Linked DNA regions of Homo sapiens: regions 1 and 2 are each linked to region 3. The links are contacts of gene promoters, found by promoter capture Hi-C in blood cells and fetal thymus (Javierre and others, 2016). All regions are on one chromosome and are shown on one strand. Each heading gives the region's core, a stretch centred on a gene start or on the middle of the fragment in contact. The rest is flanking DNA. Distances are from core to core; before and after follow the strand shown.

Region 1 (4,457 bases), core at 1,937-4,436, 3.0 Mb after region 3:
TAACAATACTGCATTTGGGCCTGGATAATGATGGCTTTAAAAGTTTCTCAGTTAATTCTACTGTGCATCTAAGGTTGAAAACAGGTGCTCTAGGGTGAGATGTAGGAATGAGGACTTTAATATGCTACCAAGGTAACTCTGTGGTCAGTCAGGCTTGAAACCACTGTGTTAGGCACCTCCTCACTAGCTGGAATGGACTTCCTTCACGTTTAGATGGTCTTAGGATAAAACACTTCAGGGCTGCCCTTTCCAGCATTCTTTCTCCCACCCCTGTACCTTTCTGTAAACATAAAGGATACAGCCTAACTCTTCAACCTTATTTAGGGTCACTGTAAACTGACCTTCTACTTATTGATAATATTTATATTATTTTATTCATATATATTCATTTATAAATGTGGTACAATGATTTTCTGAAAAAGCCACTATTGTAGGGTCACGAATTGAGTCATAGACACAAACTAGACAGGCAGAACCATTAGGCTGGGGCAAAAAGGAACAATCACTGGAATGTCTCAAAGAAAAAGTTATTGATGACAATTAGGTTCCTAAGCAAACCTCTAGGAGCTCTATTTAATCTACAGGAGGCTGAAAAACAACTCAAGAGGCCACAAGCTGTATTTCCCTGCCCACCTACCTCACACATCAAGACCTCCTCCCCCTCCCCACACATACCAAGGCCTTCCTAGCTGCTGTAAAAGTCAATCACCACCCCAGTTCTCCTGGATTTCTTATCCTTTGGATGGACTAAGGACCAAGCATAGATTTTCTACACTTAAGCTTTTCACTGCTATTAGCTCTGAATTCTAGCTTTGAAGTCTCTCTTTGACAAATACACACACACACACACACACACACACATTCTGCCACAGATCCTGTCATAAATTGTTTTTTTTTTTAAAAAATAAATAATCAATGGTACTGACTCTGAAAGACTTTATAAGGCACAAGCAAGGCTGAGGCAGGAGAATGGCTTGAACACGAGAGGCAGAGATTGCAGTGAGCCGAGATCAGGCTACTGCACTTCAGCCTGGCGACAGAGCAAGACTCCGTCTCAAAAAGAAAAAAAAAAAACCCTCAAGTTTTGTATATTTATCCTTATCCTCTTCTATTCCAACTCATACCTTTTCAAAGTTTAATTCAAGATTTAAATTTTTTTCTTGAATATATTCTTCTCTTTGTCTAGTAGTACAAGTCCATAATCCTCTATTTACAATTTCAAAGTCCTATAAATTCTTGAAACTGAAGTGTCTTTGCAACTCATTTGGTGGCAAAAACATGCACCTAATCTGAAATGACATGACGCTACTGACTTTTTCCCTTTAGCATGAACACATAATTTCATTACAGTTATTAAGATGGTTGATTAGAGAGAACTGGCTAGGACCTTACTGTGGGTATTAAATAATATATGATATATGTACCGAATTACCTTTCTAAAATCTGAAAAACTTGAAATCCCAAAGCAGACTGTAGACTTGTATCCACACTTGCAAATTCCAAAACGGCAATTTTTCAGTTATGAGATGAATAGGTTTTTGGGAGAGCGTTTGCTTGAGGACCTAAACCCACTCATTTAACTGTTTCTATAAGTACATACATTTACTGTTTTAAACAACCAACTTAGAAATGAACTGCTGGAATTCTGTGAGTTAAAGACTTCCTATATAAAATCTGAAAACCTAGGGTACCAGCAGCAGGAACCAGGTCTCCAAGCAGCTGGGTGACAAATTCCTTCAAAGCATTTTCTAGGGTAATCCCTAACCCCAGCTCCAATCTACCAATCAATTGTAGCTACGCTTTTAAACGTGTATCATTACTGTTCGCAATTTGCTGCATTGATTTAAAGAGCTTGTTTTAACAATTTCCAGTTATCAGGGCCCTCAGACATTTTTGAAAAACCTACCGAATCCGAAAATTATTCCTAACACCAATACAGTACTTAACGAAGAGTGAGCTATTTTAGTAAGTTCTTAGTCATTTAAGAGGGAGGTTTTAAGAAATGAACCGCAAGTAGGAATAAAGAAAATGTATAATGTTCACTAAACTTTTACTATTTTGTCACACACAGCTGCATGACAAGTCATGATCTTTAAATATATCAAAGCAAACTTTCAAAAAGTACTTAAATATTATGTCAAAATAAAAAATTGCAAAATCCGAGGTTTTTTTTTAAATTGTGCTTCAAATTAACCAGTCACAACCACCAGTAAAAATAGGGAAAGAGGGGGAGGGGGCTGTCCCATGACATCATCTGGCAATATGTAGTTTGAAGCCTGACAGCGCTCTCCAAATAACCCTTACGAAGATACAGCTGGGAAATCATCCCTGTCAAGCTTAGATAACTTGGGTTTAAATAAAAGGTTCAAAAAGCCTCCCCCCACCTGAGTCACATGTCTGTACCATATGAAAAATAAAACCATCACTGATGCATCTACCTCCCACTACACTGACAGCAACGGAAAGGTCACAATTAAGTGGAAACTCGCCGCAGAGCCTGTTTAATCTGAAGGGGGAAGGGAAAGAAAAGCGAAGAAAAGGACAAAAATCTGCGCGCCTCCAAGGCAGGCAGGCAGGCAGGCACCTCCGTGGAAAACCCACTCCCGCCTGCTGACACCTATGCTCATCCAACAGATCATGCCGACTCAAGATGCAGGTCATTCTCTTAGAGAAAGTGGGGGCCCAAGCCCCAGAAAATAACCCAAACATCCAGCGGAACCGACCACCCCCAACATTTCCCGAGGGTGGTAGGTGTACCTCGCGAAGTGTTCGGGGCTGTCCACGAGGCACAACTCTTTTATTTCTGCCCAAGGAAGGGCGGCCTGAGTGCGTCTCCCTGGAGTGCCAGGGCGTGCCCAGGGTAAACGCAGGCCTCCTGACGGCCCTCGCCCGGCCGCCGTCCCTCCCAACTCCCGCCGTCCGGGGCGCCAGACGGCCCCGGCCCACCACCTACCGCGGTCGCGCCGGCGCCCGCCGATACGATGGGCGGCAGCTTCTCGCGCTCTGACTCCTTCCCTTTCCTCTCCTCAGGCGCGGGCGCCGCCACCACCAGCGGAGTGGCGGGCGAGGGTACCCGAACCGCCTCACTCATGTCGGGCCGGGCGGCGGGAGCGCCAGGCGGCGGCGGCGGCCTCAGTGTTGCTGGGGCTGGCGCTGCTGCTGCCGCCGCGGCCGCGAGAGGGCTCTGGGCTGCCGCTTCTAGCCGCCGCTGCCGCCGCCACTCCGCCCCCGCCCGCGCCCGCGCCTTTGCGCGCGAGCCCGAGGCCGCCCCCGCGCGCGCCAGCCCCGCGGACGCGGCTCCCCACAGGTCCCACAGGTTTCTTGCTCTCGCCTCCCCCGCCCGCCCGGGGCTCGCGCGTCGCGGGTCGGGAGCGCCGGCGGTAGTCCCCCTCGTCAACCCCGAGGGCCCGGAGAGAAGGCGCCACGGTCGACGCCCGACCGCCATATTGTTTGCAGAGTGTCGCCCGAGATGACGAGGAGACCCCGCACCCGGGCCGCGCAGGAGAACCTGGACTAAGGACGGGCAGTCGGGGAGACAAGTCGAGCCCTGCAAAGGGTCGGACGGGGATAGAGTGTCCGAGTGGTACCAGTAGGGCAGGACGTAGGCACAGACTACCCTTCACGGACGGCCCTGGCCTGCGGCGCCGAGTCCCGCGGGCAAGCGCCCTCGGGGTCTGGGCTGGTGGCCTTTCGCCTTCTTCCAGGCGCCCACAAAGCTGTCCGCCTTGGGGCTTCTGCCTTCTTATCCTTGCCCGCCCTCCTGAGCCCAGGAGAGGCGGCCCGGAGCTTGCGCAGCCCGGGGAGACAGCCTTCCTGGCTCAGCAACCGACTCTTTTGTACACGCCTGGATGGCTTCAGCCTACACAGGAAAAGCCTGGAGGTGGGGAGGAGTGCGACGTGGTGGGCCCCCCCTTTCCCCTTCCCCCATAGGATTGGACGGCCAGTCCACACTTTCCATTCCTGTTCCTCTCGTCCCTCTTTGACTGCCAAATCCGCCTCTCCCTTCCCGTCCCCACGCGCCTACGTTTTGCTCTCTCCCCGCAACCCTTTGCTGTCTCCTATCCGTCCCTTCCTTGTTCCTTTCCGTTTATGTTAGAGATGTACATACCCAAACTCTGCTGCACAGTCCTCAATCAAATCATTACAAATAGGAGTAAAAACTTGAAAGCCGAAGAAGAGAGCTTTTAATTATGAAATTAAAATACCCCCCACCTCCACCACCAGGACACCTAGACAATTTCCTTTCCTTTCTTGTCGCCCCCTCCTTTTCCTTTTTCTCAGTCTACTGGAGCGGCGGGGACACCTGCTGATCTAGGAGAAAAGAGAGTAAGAATGCGCTGTATCGCCTGTTAAAAGCAAGGAATTTCGATATTCAGCTCTATCAGATTTTTTATCTGTGCCTTCATTATTTTATTGGAGGTTGAGTGAATTTTTAGATCAAGAGTACCTAAGTCCAA
Region 2 (4,345 bases), core at 183-2,682, 2.4 Mb after region 3:
TATCTCCCACCATTCAATAACAAGCAGATACTTTTTACTGATCGTGTACAGCAATCATTTAGCCAAAATTAAGCACCTACCATATGAGAGACTGGAACTTCTGAAGAAACCAGAACAGACAAGGTGCCTACTCTGGTTGAATTTACATTAAAAGGAAAGGAAAAAGAAAATAGATAAACATTGAAAATATATTTATGTGCTATGTAAAGAGAATGATGGAATTAATGGTATGATTAAAGACCTACTCTTACTGGGTAAATCAGGGAAAAACAGGATTAGCTTAAGCTGAGCCCTAAATGACAAGAGGTAGCTAAATGTGTGACAATCTGGGAGCCTTCCAGGAAGAGGGTATACGTAGTGCAAAGGCGTAAGAGAAGTCTGCTCTGTTGGGAAATGAGATGGGAGAAGTAGAAAGGGATCATCGTAAGGAATTTGGACTTTGCTCCATATGAAGTAGAAAGTCATAGAGTTTTAAGCAAGTGAGTAAAATGATCTTAGTTATATTTTTTAAATCTTTTTATTATCAGATAATTGGGTATATAGTCTAAATGGCATTAGAAGAGAGGAAAGGACTGGTGGTGTAGATTTGTAAAGGATAGTGTAATAATCAAATATATTGATATTGGACCGGCTTGTTTTTAAATCCTTTCTCACCACACTGAATCGCAGTGTCTCCAGGGGGAATTTTAGAACCTCTCTAAGCTTCATCTGGGAAATGAGGATAATAATAGTACTCATAGGGTTGCGGTGATGATTAAATTAATGCACATAAAACATTTAACCAAGTGACTGCCACGAGAAGCCCTCAAAAATATTATTAACTACATTGCTTACTGTTTTTGTTAACAATGGAAACTTGAGTAAGTGGCAATTTCTAGTCTCAATTTATTCAGCTGTGAAACGGGGATAATAATAGTACCAGTTCACCACCGTTATCTATACCAGTTCATCACCCCTGCCAGATGGTTTTCTGAGTTAAGAATTATTTAGGTTTTGAAAAGAAATCCAATGAATATACCTTGTATTATGCAGCATCCCAACAGCTTGTAGGGCAGTACTCTATAATCAAATATATTTATAGAGCTGCAGCAAAATGTATGACTAACCATACTAAGAGGAATAAGTAAAAGACTATAGATAGGCATATGCCAGTTCAGGCCAGGATTTGCTGCCAAATATATATATTTTGAGATGGCATTTTGCTGTTTCCAAGGCTGGTCTTGAACTCCTGGGCTCAAGCAGTCCTCCCATCTCAGCCTCATGAGTAGCTGGGACTATAGGTGAGTTTTTAAAAGTGTGGTTTTCAGACCATTTTCAATTTCAGAATTGTAAATAATAGATCATGAACCTGTACTTATAGAATTGTCATAAGGAAGAAATGAGTTCATACATGACACACTTAGAAAATACTAAGTATTAGCCAGGTGTGATAGTTCATGCCTGTCATCCCAGCACGTTGAGAGGCTGATGTGGGAGGATCGCTTGAGCCCAGGAATTCGAGACCAACCTGGGCAACATAGGGAGACCTCATGTCTACAAAAAAAATTTTTTTTAATTAGGCTGGGTGCGGTGGCTCATGCCTGTAATCCCAGCACTTTGGGAGGCCAAGGCAGGCAGATCATGAGGTCAGGAGATGGAGACCATCCTGGCTAACACAGTGAAACCCAGTCTCTATGAAAAATACAAAAAATTAACCGGGCATGGTGGCGGGCACCTGTAGTCCCAGCTACGCGGGAGGCTGAGGCAGGAGAATGGCATGAACCTGGGAGGCAGAGCTTGCAGTGAGCCAAGATCACGCCACTGCACTCCAGCCTGGGTGATGGAGCAAGATTCCGTCTCAAAAAAAAAAAAAAAAAAAAAGCCAGCTGTTGGTGGCATGTGCCTATAATCTTGGCTACTCAGGAGGCTAAGGTGGGAGGATCCCTTGAGCCCAGGAACTTGAGGCAACAGTAAGCCATGATCATGCTACTCTACTCTAGCCTGGGTGACAGAAGGAGACCCTGTTTCAATGAAAAGAAAAGACTAAGTATTAAATAAATATTAACTATTATGATTAACTATTTTAGTTATTATTATTTATAATAACTAAATGTACACCATTAAGTGAACAAATATTCACATTATAGGAGTTAAGGAAGGAGAAGTGATAACGAAAAAGCTTATTTAGTGAAATTATTGCTAAAAAAACCTTTCAAGTCTTGGGACAGATATAGAGGGGCAGATTCATAAAACTGAAAGATCCCCCAATAAATACAGCCCAAAGACATCCTCACCAAGGCACATAATAATCAAACTGTCAAAATTTAAAGAAAAATAAAGAATTTTAAAAGCAGCAAGAGAAAAGTGTCAAGTCACATATACGGGAATCTCCATTAGACTACCAATAGATTTCTCAGGAGAAACCTTATAGGCCAGGAAAGAATAAGATTATATATTCAAAGTGCTGAAAGGAATGAAGAAATGAAGAAGAAATAAAGTTTTTCCCAAACAAGCAAAAGCTGAAGAAACTCATCACTACTAGGTCTGCCCTACAAGAAATGCCTAATGGAAGTTTCTTTCTTTCCTTTTTTTTTTCCTTCGAAGTCTTGCTCTTGTCCCCCAGGCTGGAGTGCAATGGCACAATCTTGGCTCACTGCAACCTCCGCCTCCTGGGTTCAAGCAATTCTCCTGCCTCAGCCTCCCGAGTAGCTGGGATTACAGGCAACTGCCACCACACCTGGCTAATTTTTGCATTTTTAGTAGAGACGGGGTTTCACCATGTTGCCCAGGCTGGTCTCAAACTCCTGACTCCAGGTGATCCACCTGCCTCGGCCTCCCAAAGTGCTAGGCTTTCTTGCTTTCTTCCTTTCTTCCTTCCCTTCCTTCCTTCCTTCCTTCCTTCCATCCTTCCTTCCTTCTTTTCTTTCTTTCTTTTTTTGACAGGGTCTTGCTTTGTTGCTGGAATTCAGTGGCACAATCATGATTCACTGCCACTTTGAATTCCTCCCAAGTAGATGGAACTATAGGCATGTACCACTGTGCCCAGCTAATATTTATTTATGTATTTATTTACTATAGAGATGGAGTCTTGCCATCTTGCTTAGGCTGGTCTCAAACTCCTGGACTCCAGTGATCCTCCTGTCTTGGCCTCCCAAAGTGTTGAGATTATAGGTATGAGCCACCATGCACAGCCATGGAGTTCTAGTATAAACAAAATGATGATAATAATTATTATGAATACAAATGAAAATATAAAACTCACTAGTAGAGATAAATATATAGATAAACCTAGAATACTCCAGTACTGTACTGGTGATATGTAAAGCATACATATCTCTAGTATAAAGGTCAAATGTCAAAATGGTCAAAAAAATAACAAAAGCTACAATAAGTTGTTAAATAATATACAATATAAAAAGGTGTAAATTGTGACATCAAAAACACAAATTGTGTAGCTGGGCATGGCATATGCCTGTAAACTCAGCTACTCAGGAGGCTGTGGTGGGAGGATCACTTGAGCCTAGAAGTTCAAGGTCAGTCTAGACAATGTAGCAAGACCTTGTCTCTTAAAAAAAAAAAGAAAGAAAGAAAAAAAAAACAGTATGTAGAGGAGAAAAGTCTAGAGTTTTTGCACGTAACAGATGTTATCAGCTAAAAACAGTTGACTATAACTATAAGATGTTTTACGTAAGCCACATGATAACCATAGCAGTTATGCAAACAATAAAGAGAAAGAAAACAAAGCTTAGTACTACAGAGGATTATCAAATTTTTTTAATTAAAAAACAAATAAAGGTGCTACAAAACAACCAGAGATAAACAAAGATGCTAAAAAACAACCAGATATAAAATAACAAAGTAAAAATAGTAAGTCCTTCCTTTAATAATAATCTTGAATGTAATTGGACTAAATTCCCCAGTCAAAAGACATCGAGTTGCTAAATAGATTTTTAAAACAAGACCCAACTATATGCTATCTACAGGAGACGAATTAAGCTTTAAGGATACCCACAGGCTGAAAGTAGAGATGAAAGAAGGTATTATATGCAAATGGTAACCAAAAGACAGCAGGGAGGCCAGGCATGGTGGCTCACACCTGCAATCCCAGCATTTTGGAAGGCCAAGGTGGGAGGCTCGCTTGAGCCCAGGAGTTGGAGACCAGCCTGGGCAATGTAGGGAGACCTCATTGCTACACAAAAATTTAAAAATTAGCCAAGCATGGTGGCATGCACCTGTAGTTCCAGCTACTCAGGTGGCTGAGGCAGGGGGATTACTTGAGCCCAAGAGGTCAAGGCTGTGGTAAGCAATGTTTGTGCCACTGCACTCCAGCCTGGAAAATGGAATGAGACCCTGTGTCAAAAAAAAA
Region 3 (4,271 bases), core at 1,386-3,885:
GTGGACACACAGAATTAAGAAACCAGCAAGATTAAATGGAATTAAAAGGAATCATATAAACTTCCATTTTTGAGTATTTTCGAACAACAGGCTGCTCGAATTCAAGATGGGAGAGATTTAGCTTGGCAACAATTGCTTTAAAATGATCCAGAGATTTTAGTTGATTGTAAACTTAAAATGGGCCAAGAGTATGACACAGTTCTTAAAAAAGCTAGCACATGCTGGGCATGGTGGCTCATGCCTGTAATCCCAGCACTTTGGGAGGTTGAGGTGGGAGGACTGCTTGAGCCCAGGAGTTTGAGACCAGCCTAGGCAGTATAGCAAGACCAAATCTCTGCAAATAATATAAATTAGCCGGGCATGGTGGTGCGTGCCTGTAGTTTCAGCTACCCAGGAAGCTGAGGTGGAGGATCCCTTGAGCCTGGGAGGTTGAGGCTGCAGTGAGCTGAGAGCTGCCACTGCACTCCAGCCTGGGCAACAGAGAAAAAAAATAAAAAAAGGCAATCTTTATATTAAAAAAGAAAATACTAGCACAGGATTGGGCTATGACAATAGAGAAGAGAAAGTGGAGACGCTAAAAGAATACTTTTTTCTGGAAGTAGGGACAAGTAGGAAAAGAGGCACATAAAAGAGCAATTAAAGGGAGATAAGTTTATTAGAACAAATCTTAAAAATGGAAGAGATTTGAATATGTTTATAAGCTGAGGGGAAGGATCTATTAGAGAGGGAAAGAACACAGGAAAGAAGGGATAATTAATGATACAAGAATCTGATGAAGCTGGGAGGAGTTGGTTTTGAACTGGAATGGGGATGCCTCATCCTTGGAGAGACTGGAAGGAAGGCTAAAAGGATGGGAGTGACTGTAGATATGTTGATATGCTTGGGAGGGAATTCAGGCACTTGGGAAGAGCACAGGCTGATGTTTTCCACTTGTTTGATGAAGTAATACTCCAGCGGGACAGGCTCTGCTGTTTCTGACACTGTGTGGAAGGAGACAGAGCAAGGAAGAAGTTGGAAGGGAGGTTGAAAGAAGAGTGCCAGATGGACCTCTTGGTCTTTGTGGTGGGATCAGGAAATTGGTACTTTTTTCCCTCAGTCTCTCTAAGAGCAACACTATTCAAGGGGCTCAGAACCCTTTGAGCCGCACTACTGGGTTTTCCCACCTGCTCAGGACTGCGAGGCCAGACTCTGTGTCAGGGCCATGCTCAAAAATCATAGACTCAAAAAAACCCACAAAAAACTTGAAGTGGAATGCTTAAATTTATTGAGAAAAAAAAGTCTTTGAGAGACAAGCACTTTGATACTCTTATTCTTGCAATCCATAAAACTTCCTGTAAAAATGAACGACTTTAGGCGGGGCGCGGTGGCTCATGCCTGTTATCCCAGCACTTTGGGAGGCCAAGGTGGGCGAATCACGAGGTCAGGAGATCGAGACCATCCTGGCTAACACGGTGAAACCCCGTCTCTACTAAAAATACAAAAAAAATTAGCTGGGCGTGGTGGCGGGCGCCTGTAGTTCCAGTTACTCGGGAGGCTGAGGCAGGAGAATGGCGTGAACCCAGAAGGCAGAGCTTGCAATGAGCCCAGATTGCGCCACTGCACTCCAGCCTGGGCGCCAGAGCAAGACTCCGTCTCAAAAAACAAAAACAAAAAACGACTTTGGTGAAATTACTAAGCAGACAGAATTTACCCAAAGTTGTAAGATACTGAAATGCAGATACAGTTTTTTATTTTTATTTTTATTTTTTAGACAGTCTTGCTCTGTCACCCAGGCTGGAGTGCAGTGGTGTGATCTCGACTCACTGCAACCTCTGCCTCCTGGGTTCAAGCGATTCTCCTGCCTCAGCCTCCCGAGTAGCTAGGATTACAGGCGCACGCCACCATGTCTGGCTGATTTTTGTATTTTTAGTAGAGACAGGGTTTCACCATGTTGGCCAGGCTGGTCTCGAACTCCTGGAACTCAGGTGATCCACCCGCCTCTGCCTCCCTAAGTGCTGGGATTACAAGCGTGAACCACCGCACCCAGCCATGGATACAGTTCTTTATCAGCTAATGGTTAAAAATTAAAGCAAAAAAAAAATGCAAAATAAAACACTAAGAATCACAGACTTTTAAGTGACCAAGGCTGATGAGAAATCATTCGCCATGCTACAAACACGGCCAGAATGTCCGTCGAGGGGCAGGCATTACACACAAAAAATAAGCTTCTTTCTGCCCTCAGGACTGTATGGAGGAAAAAGACTACGAAAATCAGTATCTATAACAGCATGAGATAAGCAACGTGAGGAGAGGCACAAAATGCAATGAGGTGACCGAAAAAACCAAGTCCTCTCATTCTGAGAGGAGGAGCCCGATTTCCCCAAGGTTTTAAAAGAAATAAATAGGGCGAGAGTCAAAGAATCATACTCAGATAACCTTGCAAAATGCGCCCCTCCCGCCCGGCTTCCCGCCTTTGGCACCGACGCCCTCGGGGCTTCCCTCGTGCCAGTCCGCGCGCGCACGCCGGGGGGCAACCGGTCCAGGGCCGCGAGACAGTCACCGCGAGAGGGCGCGAGCCCGAACCTGTCTACGGAAGTCCCGCCCTCACTTCCGGCGGCGGAGGATTGGGAGGGACTGAAGGCCGTTTCCGGCTCTGGTAGTGTAGGGACTTCGGCACGTGTGTCATTCCCCGGGATTTCTGTAGTAACCCTGCTTCTGGTGAACTTGTCTGGCCGGCATTCATTTAAGGCCTAAGGATGAAGGCGGTAAGTGTCCTCAAAAGCCCGGTCGCCGCGGCCTAGGGCCCCTTCGGGTGATAGAGTCACTGCCTGAGTTAGCTTTTAGGCAGGTTTTCACCCGTGTCTAGGGGGCGGTGGTTTAGACTGGGGGCTTTCCATTCCTTACACCGAGCTCATCCTTGGTTACCCACTGTGTGCGCGCACCACTTCAGAGTATCACGAAGAGACAGGCACGGAGTTTTGCATGCGTGGGATTTCATACTTTGAAGGAATTTTTCAAGACCGTCTTTCGAACTCGTTTTTCACAAATGAGAAGCAGGGTCCTACCCTCAGCGAGTTTATAATGTGAGTCACGGTACCCATGAAGGGTAAAGAGATAGAAAAGCAAGTGATTTGTCCTGGTTCTCCCAGAAAATAAGAGGTAGTCCTGGGGTTCAGGACTAACTTTGGGATTTCTGAATGAGTCACCAGCAAGAGAAGTGGAATCCAAAGATCCGAATTCAGTTTTGCCCTCCTTAGTTTATGGGTCTTTTGGCAGCTTCATCAGTAATGTGAGGATAACAGCAGTCAGTACTCAACTAGGCTGTTAGAGGTGATTTGTTGGAGCACTTTGTAAGTAATAAAATCGTAGATAAATGTAAGTTTTATTAAAGACAGCCAGCATTTTGCTTTGAATGTGTTAAACTACAGGTGTGTTAAACTAGCCTTGAATAGCCACTTACCACTACTAGATCAGTGGTTCTTAACCTGTTTGGGGATCGTAGAACCCTTTGAATTGCTGTGAATTGGGATTGAATAACTGATGCTGTAGCGCTCTTCTGTAGGATTAAAGCCATCGTTTGGTTTTAGCTTTTATATGCAAGTCTGTGGCTGTGGGACATTGAAATTGTGGAATTGGTCTAATGAAATTTGTAATCAGTTCTCTTTAACCTGATTTAAAAAATAAGTTTCTGGGTATGCAGTATTCTTTCTGTTATTTTCTAGAGAAGAAATAAAAAACAGATCCCAAGCTTTCGCAAGTTAATAAAAACTAGTAAAGTCAAACTTGAAAACAAGCTAAAAAATAAGCAGTTTAAACAACAAAGCACTCTCAAGAAGTACCGAAAAGAACAGAGGAAACTAAGGCAAGCTGTGAAAGATGCTGTGTCTAAGAAACCCATTCCATTGGAGAACCCAAAGGAAAAGCGACCAGGTAATTGTGAAAACATCATGTGCTCTGGTTTCCATTGATTTATTCTGAAGTGTTCTTCATGGAAATAACTTTGCTTTCTAGTAATCGCTTTTCTTGTTCTCAGATCTTCCTAGAGTGGGTAAGGATAGTAGTCCTATAGGACTGCTATAAAGCATATATGCTTTATCACAGTCAGTATGAGAAAACATTTCAATACAGTATTCATTCAAGCTTCTGCTTTTAGTTTGTCTGGAAGGCAGATCTGAAGATGCACTACTTGGGAAAACAAACTGAAAGTACTCCGTTACATAAATATTGGGCAGTGTGCCAGTGCTGCCACTTTGCCATTCACCAGCAGTTAGGTAAGGTAAGAACATTGCTTG

The links. Contacts are between HindIII fragments. The CHiCAGO score rates a contact against its expected background, and 5 or more counts as called.
Region 1: a contact is called between the fragment with the promoter of HECTD2 here and the fragment with the promoter of NOC3L in region 3, in 1 of 17 cell types (total CD8 T cells). The highest score is 5.1, in total CD8 T cells.
Region 2: a contact is called between a fragment that was not itself captured here and the fragment with the promoter of NOC3L in region 3, in 1 of 17 cell types (activated CD4 T cells). The highest score is 6.4, in activated CD4 T cells.

What each region holds. Positions count from the first base shown.
Region 1 is chr10:91,409,073-91,413,529 of GRCh38, reverse strand. It overlaps HECTD2 (HECT domain E3 ubiquitin protein ligase 2), which reads right to left and starts at 3,186. Exons shown (of 21, transcript NM_182765.6): 1 at 2,954-3,186. The coding sequence starts at 3,091. The region is part of intron 3 of HECTD2-AS1 (HECTD2 antisense RNA 1); the gene reads left to right. RefSeq lists a silencer at 2,830-3,419 and an enhancer at 3,570-3,779. The HindIII fragment of the contact is 4,522 bases long and covers 2,339-4,457 here.
Region 2 is chr10:91,917,883-91,922,227 of GRCh38, reverse strand. No RefSeq gene overlaps it. Among named protein-coding and RNA genes, the nearest start is that of BTAF1, 3.7 kb to the left of the region's middle. The HindIII fragment of the contact is 1,456 bases long and covers 705-2,160 here.
Region 3 is chr10:94,361,303-94,365,573 of GRCh38, reverse strand. It overlaps NOC3L (NOC3 like DNA replication regulator), which reads left to right and starts at 2,635. Exons shown (of 21, transcript NM_022451.11): 1 at 2,635-2,744; 2 at 3,702-3,909. The coding sequence starts at 2,736. RefSeq lists a silencer at 2,432-2,561 and an enhancer at 2,702-2,961. The HindIII fragment of the contact is 1,523 bases long and covers 2,207-3,729 here.